Regions from separate parts of the Homo sapiens genome. Here region 1 is linked to region 2. Evidence: promoter capture Hi-C in human tissues and cell types (Jung and others, 2019). All regions are on one chromosome and are shown on one strand. The core of a region is centred on a gene start or on the middle of the fragment in contact, and the rest is flanking DNA. Distances in the headings are between cores, read along the strand shown.

Evidence for each region. Contacts are between HindIII fragments. The study calls those that stand out against the background at their distance.
Region 1: a contact is called between a fragment that was not itself captured here and the fragment with the promoter of SAMD8 in region 2, in 1 of the 25 tissues and cell types used here (aorta).

The regions. Positions count from the first base shown.
Region 1 is chr10:74,621,501-74,625,708 of GRCh38, reverse strand. All of the region lies in intron 9 of ADK (adenosine kinase), which reads right to left. Among named protein-coding and RNA genes, the nearest start is that of ADK-AS1, 94 kb to the right of the region's middle. The HindIII fragment of the contact is 4,426 bases long and covers 1-3,958 here.
Region 2 is chr10:75,110,240-75,114,533 of GRCh38, reverse strand. SAMD8 (sterile alpha motif domain containing 8) reads right to left here and starts at 2,878. Exons shown (of 6, transcript NM_001174156.2): 1 at 2,812-2,878. RefSeq lists enhancers at 2,170-3,118, 3,119-4,068 and a silencer at 2,792-3,131. The HindIII fragment of the contact is 21,981 bases long and covers 1-4,294 here.

The DNA of each region.
Region 1 (4,208 bases), core at 496-2,995, 490 kb after region 2:
TTCTAACCCTATCACATTTGTCTCACTATAACCCCATGGGATTGTTCATCACTAATACTTTTTAGAGGGATTATTGCAGCTTTTATTCTTTAGCATTTAATTAAAAAAAGGATTTTCATCTTTAGTATTTGTTGATCCCTCTGAAACAGGGCTTTATAAACAAATGGAAGTGTGATTCCTTTCTTTTATGGAATTACGGTAAACTGATCACAAAATGTTTCTCAGTCCAAAGGATGTCTTCTCTATATATATATATACTTTAAGCACTTAATAATGTATTGCCCAGCATAGCATTTAAATCCCATCACAATTACCATTTCAGAGATGGTTGCCCCATATCTCCCTTCTGCCATTTCTTGTAACAAATCATATGAAGGACTCTGCCTTTTGCTTTTATTACCTCATTAACTTTGAATACCTTTGTAATCTCAACTTGCCAAAATTGTAAGGATTCCTCAAGGCCTAGTTCATACATCACTTGCTTTGAAAAGCTTTCCCCAACTTCTTGTTCCATTTGTTCTATAAAAATTAGTTCATGAAAATAATATCATTTTTCACATCATATTATTTAAGTATGTCTCTTCTAGATTTCAAGAAAAGGAGTTTTTGTTTTGTTCATCTTTATAACCACAATTCTTGACATACAGTAGGCACTCAATAAAACCATAATGAATTGAATTTATTTGTGCTGTTACATTACTGCATTATCTATAAGTATCTTGCCTCTCCAACTTGTCCTGCTTGAGATTAGAGGTTCTCATGTTTTTTTTAAGTTCTATATTACCTGGCATATACTTAGCACATGATCAAGAATCTTTTCACTGGAAGAAATGTTAGAAATAAACACAGCCAAAAACCTCAACCAATACACAAATTCATTTTACCAAATATTTTTGTTTAAATATCTATAATGATTAGTGTGACCATATGGGCTGGTTTGCCCAGAACTGTCCTAGTATTATTAATAGCACCCCACTCTTTCACTCTCAAAAGCATCTGAGTTTTTCTAATAAGTTATATGGTCATCCTAATAACGAAAAAACTGCTTACTTCCTCACAAGTACTGACAGCTAAACAGCTCTATTATTGTACTTTTTGCATACTAAACCATGTAAATTACTTACAAAAACACCTGTTTTATAAACTGCCCCTTTATTATGGTAAGGGGTGGAGTTCTAGGACTAGAGGAAATAATTAAGTATAAGCAAAATTTACCATGATAAATAAATTGAATAGATGGCTAAGTGCCAAATTATTAACAAAAGAATTTGGATATTTTCTTGAGATTTTAGAATTGTTTATTAAACCAGAAAGGCTTTAAAAACACAGAAAGGTTTAAAAACACAAAAATTTAAAATTTAAAATAGCTTAACAACAGCAGAGAAAAGCTAAACAAATTTTCTGGGCCAAGGCTCAGCAAAGTTGGGGTGGAACCTTAGAAATGATGGCTTCTATTGGGATACTAAAAAAAAAAAAAAAATCAATGAATCAAAAATGATGTGAGTTCTAGAGCAGTTGAAATAGGATAAGCCAGCTTGGTTAAGACTTAAAAGAAATAAGGCAATAGTTAACTATCCATTTAAATACAGTTTTTAATATTTCACGTGTAACCAGTTTATTCCTTTTAAACAAGGAAAATTTTAGCCATTCAGTTATCTGAATCAGACTTTTCAGCTATACTTCCAAAGATTTTTTTCTGAGCCAAAAGCTTGCATGCAGTGTTTCAGCCAAAAGAAAATTTTGCCGCCAAGTTGTAATGCTCTGAAAAATGAATTTTAGAGTCTAATTGAATTTCTGAAAGAAATACTCACTGGTACAAACAATAATTATTCTGAAAAACATTTGGTAATATACCTCTTTAATTAAATATCTATTTGTATTACATTTTCAAGAGCTTTTGATTATAGAAATTGATTAGAGTTATAAACCAAAATGAATAAATTTTCTAAGAACCATTTAGACTAATGTGTGTGTATATATATATATATGCCTAGAATACATATATATTATGTATATATGTGTATATATATAAATAAAATCTATAAATGTGTAGGTAAATGTCACTATCATCTAGATATCCATTCATGCATACAAAATGCATTTACAAGATATGCACGCACAATTCTACACCAGAAAGTTTTCCAGCTCTAACAAATTCTAACTAAAGAGAAGTCTTAGAATTGGAGCATATTTGGCAAAAGCTTTGAGAAACACAGTTAAGCAAGTACGGACTAGATCATATATGGACATTTTCTTGGGTCAAAGGGCCTCTGGATGTAGTTTAGTAGGATAAAGATGCTTTATCCTACTAAAGCCTATTGGTGTTGACCTTATGATTAAGTGTAAAGAGGAATCAGCCAGTGATCCTTTAAATATATAAATTTTGAGGGATACTGTAAGACAGGGCTTTTCTAATCTTGAGGCAATTAATAATTTGGGCCAGATAATTCTTTATTGTGGATTGGCTGTCTTGTGCATTATAGTATATATAGCAGCATCCCTGGCTTTTACCCACAAAATGCCAGTGGAAGACCCAACTCTTCCATACCAGCCAGTTGTCATAACTGAAAGGAAGGGGGAAAGTTGTTTCTGGTTGAAAACCACAGATGTAAGCCAATGAGTTAACATGGTATGGAACAGATTGGACTAGTCTGGGATTCAAGAAGCCGGGTTCTTTTTTTGTTTTTTGTTTTTTGTTTTTGAGACGGAGTTTCACTCTTGTTGTCCAGGCTAGAGTGCAATAGTGTGATCTCGGCTCACCGCAACCTCCGCCTCCCGGGTTCTAACGATTCTCCTGCCTCAGCCTCCCGAGTAGCTGGGATTACAGGCATGCACCACCACACCTGGCTTATTTTGTATTTTTAGTAGAGACAGGGTTTCTCCAGGTTGGTCAGGCTGGTCTTGAATTCCCGACCTTAGGTGACCCTCCCGCCTTGGCCTCCCAAAGTGCTAGGATTACAGGCATGAGCCACCGCACCAGGCCGAGGCTGGGTTCTAATCTAGCTGCTTTTGTTTCTAATTCTGAGACCTTGGGAAAGTGACCTAATCCAGCAGTTCCCAAAGTGCGGTATGAAGAACAGTATTCCTAAGTCACATTCCTAAAAACAGTATTCCTTAATACACAGATAAGCCCACTTAACTTTCTCGGGCTATGTATTTTTCTATTTAATAATAAAAAAATGTATTCAATAAGGGACCTATTGGTTAGGCTCTAATGCCATAGCTTGTAGTAAACCAATTCCCAGACCATAAAAAGGCAGAAAAGCTTAATTTTTTTTTTTAAATAAAGAAGGGATGAGAGAGCTGACAAGGTAGTCAAAATTTGACAAGAGAAGGTCTCAGAGAGAAGAGGATCTTAAAGAGCTAAACTGACATTCAAAAAGTCGTTTTCTCCCTAGGGTATTTGCAAATTCCTGTGTCGGGTAAGAGGCTGAGAATCTGGGCAATGGACTACTACTAAGAGGCAGAGAAGCCAACATAACTTTTTGCAATCTCTAGTGGGTGGTAAGACAAAAATTCGAGTTTGGGACTGTCAAGACAGACAGAACTGAGGGTCATGATCCTGAAGAGGAGGGGAAAACAATAAAGTAGGCCTGAAACTCAGGAGAGGAAATACTCTACTCAAGGTATTTGCCACACTTGTCAGGAAGCAGGACAAGAGGCCAAGACACCAAGTATAAGGCATCCATAAGGCAGAGTGGTGATTGTGCTAGTTGTATGGTACACAAAACAGATAAAATTTGGAGTTCAGAACCCATTAATGAGTAGGGATCTCATAAAAACACCAGGATTTCAGCTGAGATTCCAGGAGGGCCATGGTATAGAAGTGGAAGCAAATGAGAGGTAGACTGGGTCTTACAAAAACTATAACCCAACCTTGAGGTGGCTTAGTCCTAGATCTAATTGGACTCTACACTAACAGAAGCTCTATAATTTATTATGGACAATGTTTAACATTTGATAAAAAATTATCAGGCAAACCAAGAAACAAGCCCCAAAAGGAAATAGAAACCAAACCGAACAAAAACAAAAAAACAGACCTATATACTACCCAAAGTGATCCGCCAATTCAATACAACCCTTATCAAAATACGAATGACATTCTTCACAGAAATAGAAAAAATATTCTAAAATTTCTGTGGAATCAGAAAAGACCCTAAATGGTAAAAAACATCCTGAGCAAGAAGAACAAAGCTGGAGGTATCATA
Region 2 (4,294 bases), core at 1,629-4,128:
TTTGAAGAAGTATTGAGGATCTAATGATTAACAAAATAAAAAAATGTTTATAAGCAACTGTGCAATGTGAATAAGCTTTTGCAGAAGGGGGGTTATGGTACTGAAATCAAAACTGATTTACCTAAATATGTCTGCATATTCTGCCATCGCAGTCATGATGGCTTCTTCTGCCTTAGAGAAACCGATTTTTTTTTTTTTTTTGAGACATATCACTCTGTTGCCCAGGCTGGAGTGCAGTGGTGTGATCTCAGCTCACAACCTCTGCTTCCCGGGTTCAAGAGATTCTCCTGCCTCAGCCTCCTGAGTAGCTGGGATTACAGGTGTGAGCCACCACACCTGATTAATTCTTTTTATAGTATTAGTAGAGATGGGGTTTTGCCATGTTGGCCAAGCTGGTCTTGAACTCCTGACCTCAAGTGATCTGCCTGCTTCGGCCTCCTAAAGTGGTGGGATTACAGGAGTAAGCCACCACACCTAGCCAAAAACTGATTTTCTTTATTCAATGGGTGTGAGAACTGACAAAGGGAAACAAAAATTAAAAAACTATTAGACATGCTAATATGTTAATTGTACAACTCCATCTAACAGTTTCTCTTTAATTTTGCAATAACATTAAGCTGTAATCTTAATAGAGTTCTTATATTGCAGTTCAGCAAATTTTTACATGCCATGACTTTTATTCACAACTAAGTATGAAGATAAGGTCTCCAGAGGATCTCACTCTAAAGATAAAACCAACAAACAGTAATATTACATAAACTTCAACTGAAGATAATTTGTATTAAGTTAAAGAAAAGGGAATTAATACTTTAACAATCTCAGCATTTTTAGCTAAGAATTCACATATCCTTTGAAGAAACAATTACTATTCCACTGTGCATCTGAGGGTATGTCACATAGCCCATACACATAAACTAATTTAAAAGCTGTTGCAAATCAAATTATCATCTCATGAAGATTAAACAGTAGATATCCATTTAGATTTAATCAAGCATTTAGAAAACGCTTGATGCTAACAAAAATTAGCCAGCCATGGTGGCGCCCACCTGCAGTCCCAGCTACTCCCAGCTACTTGGGAGGCTGAGGTGGGAGGATCACTTAAGCCTGGGCAACACAGCGAATCTCTGTCTCAAAAAAAAAAAAGAAAGGAAAGAAAAGAAAAGAAGGAAGAGAAAAGAAATGGCCAACAACTTTACAAACCTATAATCACATAAAAAGTTGTAAAACATATGAGACATGTGGCTAAAGTCAAAGACTTCATGGAACCATGTTATGACTTAACAATCACAAAAGGAAGTCAATTTATCTCTACTAAAGTGAATATAAATATTGCAATCATTCTTTTTCTGGCATAATTATGTTTTGGAACTATGTCTTCTATAAAAAGCATCTGTATACCCACCTGTCCCAGTTGTGTTGGCTGCCAACTACAAGCATCCTCTGTCCTTATTTTTCCAAATCACTCTACTAAAAATACTATTCACACAATACCTGCAAAATAGTATTTCAATATTGGTTTTGCCAATCAGTCAAAGGTACCTCTCCAATTTTCAAGAGATAAGTCCAATCCTGGGGTTATCAGTGAGAGGAAGATTTGGTATTGCGCCTAGACTGTGGCAAGTTCACTGTGCCCCCTTCACCCAGAAACTTGCATTGACCATACATTTACTATGTGGCAAATACATGTGTCAACTTAAAACTTTGAAAGTGGAACCAGTCCATGTTGAGTATCTGTAAAATCCAAGTGTCCAAATTCTTGTTTCAAGTTTAATTTTTAAAATCTGAGTATCCAAAGTCTTGTTTCAAGTTTTTAAAACTTAAAGGTAATATAGTAAATTTTTAGGATCTTAACATGTCTGGTATTTAAACTTAGCTACGAAAAAATTACAATGAAAAAAAGGACACCATTACTGTCAATAAATCCAAATGATATCTTCATTTTCAGAATCACGTCTTCCACTACCTTCTTCAAACATCACTTCCTCTCCACTACTTCCCCCAGTCCTTTAGGCAAATCAGTGATTCACACCGCCCCTTCCACCCAAGATTCTTAAAATGATCCACTGTGCACGAACGAGAAAGCCCCACGATCCAAGTACATTGCCCTAGTGATCTTTGATGTTTTAAAAGGCACCTGTAAAAATGCCAAAGCCCAAAATTAGATCCCCAAGGGCTCCTTTTCTTTCTTGACCACACTTCTCTTTTTCAGTGCCTCCCTCACCCCTTGAGGCCAGACGATTTCCCATCCAACAGCCCTCCTCCTTCTAGTCAAACCTAAATCCTGCCCTCCATCACCACCAGCCCCACCCGGGGTGGGAGGCGGATAAGAGGGCTCCGTAAGAGGAGAACCCCATGAGAGGGCTCCAGTCCCAGCCCCGATCGCCCTCCCTCGCCCTGGGAAGGGAACACCGGCCCAGGTCTTGCTCCTCTGACTCCTCATCCCCGCTGCCAAACCCAGAGCATCTCTTCTTCCGGGTCCACATTCCCGCAGGACCTTCGATCTTTTTCCCCCACTGCGCAGCTTTCAAAAGCCCCCAAGCTCTGGGCTCTTCAAGCCTCCCCCTCTCGCTCTCTCCCTCTCGTTCCTCGGCCTCCACTTATCCCTCAGCCTTCAGGCCCTCAGTTCGACAACCTCCATTTGCTTCAGATTCCATTCCAGAGCTGACTATCCCGGTTCCCTCAACCGTCTCCCCGGGGCCCCTCCAGGTCGCGGTCCCTCGGCAGCCCCCGGCTCCATCCCAGACTCCCCACTCACCCTTGGCAGCAGGCGCCCCCCAAGCTCCCCTCTCCTCAGCCTCAGCTCCCGCTCACCTCCGCGGTCCGAGTCGGGCTCCCCGGACCCACCTCCGAGTCGGCGTCCGAGCCGCCGTCGGAGTCCGGGGCCCTCCCCGCCTCGCCGGAGTGAAGCGCCTCAAGCGGCGGGGGCGGAGCCCGGGGCGGGGAGCCGGAGTGGAGGCGGGGGCGGTGGCGACTGCGCGCAGGCATCGTCCCGGCCGCCGTCACCGCCGCGCCGGCAGCTGCTCGGAGCCGAACCGGAACTGCTTCGGGAGGCGGGGCCCTACCGGCCGGGGACGGGGTTCTACCGGCAGGGGGCGGGGCCCACACTGGAAAAGACGCGAGGCTCCAGATGGGCCCGAGAGGAGAACCGAGATGCTGCCGCGGAGGAGCCCGAGGGCGCATGCGTCATGCCGGAGGCCAAAGCGACAGGAGGAAGCGGGGCTAGCGGAGCCGGGGCGGGGCCTGTGGGATCAGTAAATGGGGTTAGGGCCTAGAAGGAGGTAATCCGAATTCCTCTGGAGAGAGCCAGCTCTTCTCCAATAGCCAGCCCCCAATGATCATTGTTATAATTTATTGCCCATTTACTCTTTGACAGTGTCTATGCCAAACGCCATATAAACATCTCATTTAATCCTTGTGCTAAGGCCGGGAGCGGAGGCTCACGTCTGTAATCCCAGCACTTTGGGAGGCTGAGGCGGGATCACCTGAGGTCAGGAGTTCGAGACCAGCCTGGCCAGCATGGGGAAACCTCGTCTGTACTAAAAATACAAAAATTAGCCGGGCGTGGTGGTGCATACCTGTAATCCCAGCTACTCGGGAGGCTGAGGCAGGAGAATCGCTTGAACCCGGGAAATGGAGGTTGCAATGAGCCGAGATCACGCCATGGCACTCCAGCCTGGGCGACAAGAGCAAACTCCATCTCAAAAAAAAAATCCTAGTGCTAATTCTGCAAGGGGGATCCTATAGCACAGAAAAGTAAAGAAACATACTGCCTGACATATTGCAAACTGATATTCCAACCCAAATCTCTCTAACATCAGATCCTGTATTTTCCTCACTCCACCATGCTGCACCACCCTGAGGGAAGGTCTCCTCCCAAGCCAGGTCTAGCATTGGCATAAACCAAGTCCAAACCCAGCTGTAACCTGGACACGAGCCCCTCCTTGGTCTTGCCTCCCCACACAGTGCCGGGCCGACTTCAATGGTTCTGAATGGGATAGACATGAGTGTAGACTGCTTCCATGGGATGCCCTGGTGTGGCCTTTCCCTTCAAACTGGTCTTAAGGCCAAGGGCAGCTGGGAACCTCCCCACTGCAGCTCATACCCTTCCCAGCTCCATTAGGGCCACTGAGAAGTCACATGAGAGAGGGTGAGACATCTCATCTCTCTTGCTGATAACCAGCTCTGGCAGAAGGACAGGTTGACCTTTCTCAGTTTCTATTTTGGGACCCAAAGCCCTTATAGGCAGAGGAATCTCCCTCCCACTGTTTCTGATGACAGTTAGCCCCTTTGGCTC